Regions from separate parts of the Homo sapiens genome. Here region 2 is linked to region 1. The links are contacts of gene promoters, found by promoter capture Hi-C in human tissues and cell types (Jung and others, 2019). All regions are on one chromosome and are shown on one strand. The core of a region is centred on a gene start or on the middle of the fragment in contact, and the rest is flanking DNA. Distances in the headings are between cores, read along the strand shown.

Region 1 (3,941 bases), core at 1,190-3,689:
GGGACACCAGGTCTGGCTCTGGGATGGCCAGTAGTGGCTTCGACCCAGGGGCGCATCTCCAAAGGGACTATCTTGAATGGAGAAAACTGGCAGGCTGCAAGAGGAAAGTGGGGTTCAGGCAGCACGTGGTTTCGCCGCAGCCCTGGGGAGGGGGACATTAGAGGAGGGCAGAACCAGACAATTCCCATAGATTCCTGGAGGAGACGGACTGTCATTTCCATGAAGCACCGTTGCACATTCAGGATATCGACAGTGGAAGGGTGAGTCCTGGGAGCCCGCCCCTGGAGCAGTCTTAACAGGGAGCAACTCAGGAACTGACAGCCGGTGGTTCTCAACCCTGGATCCAGTCTAGGAGGGGCTTTTCAACGTTACAGGCGCGCGGTTCCCATTCCAGACCAACAGAATCAGAATATCTATTAGTGGGGCTGGGCCTCCGTGTCTTTTCCGCAGCGTCCCAGGTGATTGCGAAGTGGAGTTCAGGTTAAGAATCGCGGCTCGCCGGGCGTGGTGGCTCACGCCTGTAATCCCAGCACTTTGGGATTACACCGAGGCGGGTGGATCACTTGAGGTCAGGTGTTCGAGACCAGCCTTACTAACATGGCGAAACCCCGTCTCTACTAAAAATATAAAAAATTAGCCAGGCGCGGTGGCAGGTGCCTGTAGTCCCAGCTACCTGGGAGGCTGAGGCATGAGAATTGCTTTAACCCGGGGGCAGAGGTTGCAGTAGCCAAGATTGTGCCACTGCACTCCAGTCTGGGCCAACAGAGCGAGAGACTCTGTCTTAAAAAAAAAGAAAGAAAGAAAGAACCGCGGCTGGATTATATCACCGAGCATTTCCCATACATTCCTGGGGGACACGAAGGCAAAGGGTAGATGGACTACAAGCCCCAGGATCCACTGGGCTCCGCCTCCGCGAGAAAGTTCAAAGACAACGCCCAGGCGTGTCTGGGGGCCATTTCAAAATGAAGAAATTCAGATCTCAAGCCTTTCTTGGACACCTTTAGAGGCAATAATTCCTTGGGGCCCACTCAGAGAGGAACATAAGACTCTTAGGGGACCCCCGGGATGCTAACGGCTACGGCTGGAGAGGCCAACGGCTGTGGAGCATGTTGGGAATTGTAGTTCCAGTGCGGTGGAGCCCTAGCGACTCCAGACCGTATCCAGCCCGTCCTAGGCTGTGCTGCTCTCGCCGTTGGTCCTCCCCAGCCTCCTGTAGTCCCTGGAAGAGCGATCGGCCTCACCTGCGGTCCATCCCGCGGCTCCCTCCGCGCTTCCGGCCGCTCTGCTCCTTCACCCAACAGGCCCCGCGCGCATCTCCGTCGCTTAGCAACGCCCTATCAGCCCCGCCCCTCTCTGTGCCCGCGCCGGAGGCGAGCGGCCTCCAAGGCGACCAATGAAAGAGAGGAAACAGAAGTACCCGGAGGGAGGTGTTTCAGGATTGGCTGGGACGACTGCCTGCCCGACAGGGCGTGTTTGATTGGAGAACCTGCCGAGTGTAGCAGTAATTGGCAAGACCGTGCACCAATGGGAAGGATCTGAGGCTGGGCTTGCGGTTAGGAGGTGATCTAAAGTACCCTCGCTTAAAAGTCCCGCTTTTTAAGCGCCTTCTTGCTGCAGAAGTCCTGTCCCGACCCCGGTCTAACTACCATTCTTTCTGTTGCAGGGGCAGTGGGGCGGGTTGGGGGGGGGGCGCGCTCTGCCCTCTCTCTAACCGCTATTCCTCCATCAGTTGGGCCAATCAGTCCGTCCCAACGGTCATCTAACTTCTTTCTTGCTGCAGGAGCAGCTGGTTGCATCAGTTGCCAGGTCTGGGCTCCTGGCCGAGGTAGCGGGATCAAAATGAGCTATTTCCAGCCCCAGCGCGCGGCCCCCGGGGGGCCAGCCTGAACTGTTCATGCTCGCGCCCCCTGGCCTCTGCGCACCAGAGGCTGAGTCAGAGGCACAGAATTAGGCCCGGCCTGCCGGGGGACTGGGCCCAAGGTCTGGCTGAGGATAAGGGTAGGGAGGGCCTGTTCTATGTCCTCCTGACATCCTGGCGGGGCTACCGCATTCTCCAGGAATCTGCTCCTAAAGACCTCCATCTGCGTCATCCTCAGAGCTGCCAGGGGGGAGGCAGTGGATTAAAGGGACTGGAAACTCTTCCGTGGGCCTCTTGGGTCCTGGGCCCCAATCACCACGCTGTGCTCCCCACACCCGCAAGGCTCCCCCTCCTCAGCCTTAGTTTCCTCTTCTGGAAATTGGGGAATCTTCATGTCACCTTCTTGACAGCATTTGCCAGGCATCCAGCAGGCGCTTAATAAATGGCCAAGTCATTGTTTGGGTTTCTAAATAAGGCTCTCCTAATGGCCGGGTCTGGCCACGGTCCCAGTGTCCCTGGGCAGCCCTCCGAGGGGCCGGCACAGGGCGCACTATAAATGAGCGGCTGCGCACGCAGGGGCACTGCAACGCGGAGGAGCAGGATGGAGATCCCTGTGCCTGTGCAGCCGTCTTGGCTGCGCCGCGCCTCGGCCCCGTTGCCCGGACTTTCGGCGCCCGGACGCCTCTTTGACCAGCGCTTCGGCGAGGGGCTGCTGGAGGCCGAGCTGGCTGCGCTCTGCCCCACCACGCTCGCCCCCTACTACCTGCGCGCACCCAGCGTGGCGCTGCCCGTCGCCCAGGTGCCAGGCCTGGGGAGGGGTGAACTCGACCACTTCCATTGCCAGGGGTCTGGGGCAGCCTGGGGTGGGAACATGTGAGAGAATGTTCGTTGGCCTTGGGCGGGGTGGAGAGTCCGCAGCTCCGAAGGGCTTCCGGAGTCAATGGGAATCTGAGGCCCGCACACTGCAGCGGGTGGGAGGTCCCCGTCGCTCTTAGGTGGGGGGCGGGGTGGGGGGCTCTCAGCTCTCCAGAGAATGGAAGGCCTGGGTCACTCTAAGGGGAGTCTTGCTTACTCTGAAGGAGGCTGGTGATCCGGGAAATCTGGGGAAAAGGAGGCGGGCAGTGACTCCTGAGGGGAAGGAATGTTCTTAGTCTCGGGGAAGAGTTGAGAGACTGTGTGCGGTGGCCCGATATCTCCAGAAGAGGAGGGGAGAGGGCCCTGCGACTTGAGGAAGGGTTCCCGGCCACTCTGAAGTGGGGGAAGGCTACCAGTAGCTGCCGAGGTCCCGTGACTCGAGTGGGAGAGTAGGCAGAGGACCCTGGAGACGGGGAAAGGGGCATCTTGGCGAGTTTGGCGGGGCTGGCGGAGAAGGGACCCGGGGCTCTGAGGAGGGAGCTGGGGAATCAGTGCCCTGGGGGGCACGATGACTTCGGATTCGCTGACACCGGGGGAGGGCAGAGGTTCCTGACCTTGCAGGGGAAGGGAGCCTCATCACTGCGGGGGAGAGGGCAATCCCAGATATTACAGGGGGAGGGCGTATCCCTGTTGTTCAGGGTGAAGAGGTCCTGGGTGACTCCCAGTAGGAGAGCTGACTGCTCAACTCCGGAGGCCAGAGTGAGCCGCGGCACGGAACCGACGGGGGTGGGGTCTCCCTGGGTGGGTCCTGGAGCCTGGCCCAGCCCAATGACAGTCCCGCCCGCGCCCGCTGCGCTCAGGTGCCGACGGACCCCGGCCACTTTTCGGTGCTGCTAGACGTGAAGCACTTCTCGCCGGAGGAAATTGCTGTCAAGGTGGTGGGCGAACACGTGGAGGTGCACGCGCGCCACGAGGAGCGCCCGGTGAGCCGCGGCGTGGGGCGGGGCTGGAGCGGGTACGCTCGCCGCCGGGCCGGAGGGGCGGGGCCGCTCAAGCCTCCCTCCCCTCCAGGATGAGCACGGATTCGTCGCGCGCGAGTTCCACCGTCGCTACCGCCTGCCGCCTGGCGTGGATCCGGCTGCCGTGACGTCCGCGCTGTCCCCCGAGGGCGTCCTGTCCATCCAGGCCGCACCAGCGTCGGCCCAGGCCCCACCGCCAGCCGCAGCCA
Region 2 (4,113 bases), core at 739-3,238, 270 kb after region 1:
GTGCCCAGCTTCTGGGGTTCGTAAAGGTTGTTCATGGATGCCGTCCAGCCCTCCCACCCAGGGCCACCGCCACCGTGCATTGCATCAGGTTGTGTTGATAAGGTCTTGCTTTTCCCTGACAGCGCCGGTCCATGTCCCAGCCCCTCCCTGTTACAGCAGGAGCCGGTTTGGCCACCTGAACCTCACTGTGGAGAAGGCTGCTTGACTAGGACATTGTGTCACAGTGAGGTGATCCAACTTCCAAACTGGGGGTGGGGCAAGGTGGGTTAGGGCAATGACATGGAGTGGGCACTCCAGGTTCAGGGTACCTGGATCCCATCTCCAACTGGGCACCCTAAGAGCTGTTTTTTGTTCCCTGTTCCTTGTCATCTTAGCTCAAGACAGTCATTTCTCTGAAGACCCAAGAGTAAAAGACGGGCAGTTGGAAAATGGAAAGGTTCAGCCCCATGAAAGGAAAATGTACACTGTGGCTGAAGGATGCCTGAATACTAAGTCTAACGTATCATATCTGACCAATGCTGACTCTACCTGGGTTCTGTGTGAGCCATGGTTCTAGGGGGATGTAAAGCTGATCAAGATACAGCTCCTGACCTCAAGGAACTTGATACTCTAAAAGGGAAACAAGGCGAGAACATGACTTACTTAGATACAATGCCAGAGACATACAAACGAATGAATATGGGAATTCTGTGAAAGGAAAGGTGTGGAGAGAAGGACTGGGCATTGCAGGAAAAATCTGGGAAGCTTCATCCAAGATGAGTGTTGGGTTCTGAGAACTGGAGATGAGAGAAGGCCATGTTAGGAATAAGGAACAGCATGGCCGGATGCTTTGAAGAGGGAAAAAGAAGGATATAGTTGGTAAGGGGTCTAATTTGGCCAGAATGTGAGGTATGTACAAAGCTAGTAAAGGAAGAAGTTATAAAGGTGGGTTGAGTTCAGAGCATGGACCACCTTCAATGCCAAGCTAAAGAGTTTACATAGATTTTGGTAGGGTGGAAGAAAAGGCCTGAATGAGCATGGAGCGCAGGCTCACACCTATAGTCCTTTGGGAGGTCAAGGCAGGCGGACCCCTTGAGTCCAGGAGTTTGAGGCCAGCTTGGGCAACATGGCGAGACATTTTCATCTCTACGAGAAAATTAAAAAAAAAAAAAGCTGCAACATCTCTACAAGAAAATAAAAAAGTTAGCTAGGTGAGGTGATGCGTGCCTCTAGTCCCAGCTACTAGGGAGACTGAGGTGGGAGGATTGCTTGAGCCTGGGAGGTCAAGGCTGCAGTGAGCTGTGATCACACCACTGCACTCCAGTCTGGGCAACGAGTGAGAGCCTGTCAAAAAAAAAGAAAAGAAAAGAAAAGAAAAAGCCTGAATTCTAAGAGAGGAATGAGGGATATAACGAAAAGAGACAAAGACAAAAGGAGAGGTTGCTTGGGTACCACTGCCAATCCCTTGGAGGGACAGGTCCAACCTGTCTCTGTCCCAGCCCCATCTGCATGAAGAGACCCATTGCAGTGTTACCTTCCACGTGCCTGGGGCAGAATGCGAATTGAGAAATCCGAGGCAAATGAGGAACAGTCCATGCCTCCCCCTCCCAGAGCCCCGGGGGTGGGCGACAAGATCTGGGGGTGAGTCAGTGGGGTGGGGACCCCATTTCTGTGCTCATCTGCCTCCTTGGCAATATAAAGAGCAAGCACTGAGGCCCCGCCTCAGAGCACCCCAAACTTGACGCCATGAAGATCCCGGTCCTTCCTGCCGTGGTGCTCCTCTCCCTCCTGGTGCTCCACTCTGCCCAGGGAGCCACCCTGGGTGGTCCTGAGGTGAGCACGTCACCTGCATTTTTATTCTTATACGTGTTACCCACCTACCCCTCCATCTCTCTACCTCCTGTCCATTCCTGGATAAGTGGCTCTTAGTTTTGGATTCTGATGGGGGCTGAAGAAACTGGGGCTCTGAGGAAGGGAGGAGGGAACAGAGCATCCCTGGGGAGACATTTGGGACAGAGATGCTCCTCTTTCTGGAAGGGATGGTGAAGTGTGTTGGGGAGGCTCGTGTACTGAACCTTGGGACTGAGTGGGTGGTCTGGGTTCAGACTATCTCCACCATGGGCTCTCAAGAGTGTTCACCCATTCCGTTCCAGCTGCACACATGCCTGGGGACGTGCAGGGGAAGAGGGGGAACTGGAGAACGGCAATGTGAGGCAGAGCAGCTCCAAACCCAGGCCTGCATCCACATGGGCAGCAGGTGGAGAGGGTGAAGCAAAGCAAAAAACTAGCTAGTTCTGCCTGCAGCTGACTTAACTCAAAGAGGAGTGGGGCTGGGGTGTTCTGGAGACACCCCTGCTTAGCTCCTCTTTGCTTCATTTGTGCCCCTGGGAGTGGTGCCCAGGTGACGGGTGGCTCCCTGCTGTCTCTGGAGCATAGGCCACAGTGAGAATCTTTACCATCCAGTCCTCAGCCAGAGAGGAATCCTGATGCCTATTCCGGATTTAAAAGTCTAAGACAGGGGCACAGGCTCAGCTGCTAAGGACCAAGCCAGTGGTGTCACTGAGCTGGGGGGGCTGTCAGGGCCTGAGGTGAAATGGGGCCAACTTTCCCAGTCTGAAAGGGCAGCTTTCACCCCACCTGACGCCATGGATTGGGAAGATGTGCCTAGAGTTTTACATTTTTCAGGGGAAACTAGAAATCTGGATGAATTTATGAATTCTTACTAATTCAAAATGTCTAATTCAAACCAAAAAACAAATGACCAAATTTTTATGAGATCTAAGCATCTGGATCCAGCCTGCGGGCTCCGTGTTGGGCTCTGTCATGGGGAAGACACGATGGGACACACTGAGGCCTGGGGTGGGGTCCCCATGGAGGGGGATTATGGAACCTCCAACAGTGGTGGCAATAAATCCACAAAGCAAAGCAACCTCGATCAGTGAGAGGCAGGCGGGTCACCTCAGCAGCTGGGCTCCCACCTGCTCGCAAATCTTTCCCATCCAGCTATACGGACTGAGCGTGGGTGTCTCCAGAACACCCCACCTCTTAGACTTAAGTCAACTGCAGGACAGCACTAGCTAGCTTTTCCGGAGAGGAATGCTCGGCTCCAGGCTTTCTGCCTGCTGCCCATGGTGACACTGCTTACATGTACCATTCTCCAATTCCCCCTCCTCACCCTGCACATCCGCCAACCATGTGCGCGACTGGAACGGAGACCATGGTGGGGAATGGGTTGCGTTCTTTCGGGGACTGGGCTGTGGATGAAGGCAGAGCTGGCAGACAGGGATGTGGGCAAGGGCCCTGGCATCACGTGACCCCCTGCCGCCTTTTCTCCCTCTCCTTTTCCAGGAAGAAAGCACCATTGAGAATTATGCGTCACGACCCGAGGTAAGCCGTCTGTTTTCCCCGGCCCTCCAGCCACGAGTCTGTCCTCTCTCTCTTTTTGCTTCTTAGCAACTTTCCTAACACCCTGCGTTTCTGCCTAGGCCTTTAACACCCCGTTCCTGAACATCGACAAATTGCGATCTGTGAGTACGCTTCTCTGGTGCTACCCCCACGAATACCCTCATCACAGAGGGGATAAACGCCTTGGTAGAGAGCTTGCAAAGCTGCCACGGTTCCTTCACCTTCTCCAGAGGGCTGGGGGCTAAGCTCTGGCCTCCCCTGGAGCTGACCTGCTTCTGCTGTCTCTCTTCCTCCTCAGGCGTTTAAGGCTGATGAGTTCCTGAACTGGCACGCCCTCTTTGAGGTGAGTGCTCCGGCGCCCCTTGCCCTCCTCGGTTGTCTGCAGTCATCCCAGGGTAGTGGCCACACATTTTGGCTTTAAATGTATGGGTTGGTTCCTGATCTCTGGGAGGGAGTGACTGTCCTGCCTGGATGCTGCCCAATGGGCTGTCAACGGAAGAAAGCTTCCCCCGGCGCCAGTCCTGGCTACCCGTGTTTTCCTAAGATGGTGGTGGAGGAGCAGGGCCCCAAGGACAATTGCAGAAGAGGAAGAGGCTAATCGGTCAAGATTTTATTTGAATCCCCTCATCCTCTATGGAAAAACTGAGGCCCACCCGCACTTAGAAGGCAAAGTCAGCGACAGAGCTGGGGCCCGCGTCTCCTGACTCTGCACTGACTTCTCACATGGCC

What was found. The method cuts DNA at HindIII sites, captures the fragments that hold promoters and counts their contacts. A contact is called where the count stands out against the background at its distance.
Region 2: a fragment that was not itself captured here is called in contact with the fragment with the promoter of HSPB6 in region 1 in 1 of the 25 tissues and cell types used here (pancreas).

Annotation. Positions count from the first base shown.
Region 1 is chr19:35,755,527-35,759,467 of GRCh38, reverse strand. It overlaps HSPB6 (heat shock protein family B (small) member 6), which reads left to right and starts at 2,439. Exons shown (of 3, transcript NM_144617.3): 1 at 2,439-2,657; 2 at 3,574-3,696; 3 at 3,785-3,941. The coding sequence starts at 2,460. It overlaps PROSER3 (proline and serine rich 3), which reads right to left and starts at 1,292. Exons shown (of 11, transcript NM_001367856.1): 1 at 1,242-1,292; 2 at 1-94. The coding sequence starts at 1,252. RefSeq lists enhancers at 948-1,007, 1,048-1,287, 1,616-2,187. The HindIII fragment of the contact is 17,144 bases long and covers 1-3,941 here.
Region 2 is chr19:35,488,055-35,492,167 of GRCh38, reverse strand. KRTDAP (keratinocyte differentiation associated protein) reads left to right here and starts at 1,704. Exons shown (of 6, transcript NM_207392.3): 1 at 1,704-1,812; 2 at 3,328-3,366; 3 at 3,465-3,506; 4 at 3,683-3,727. The coding sequence starts at 1,726. The HindIII fragment of the contact is 6,388 bases long and covers 1-4,113 here.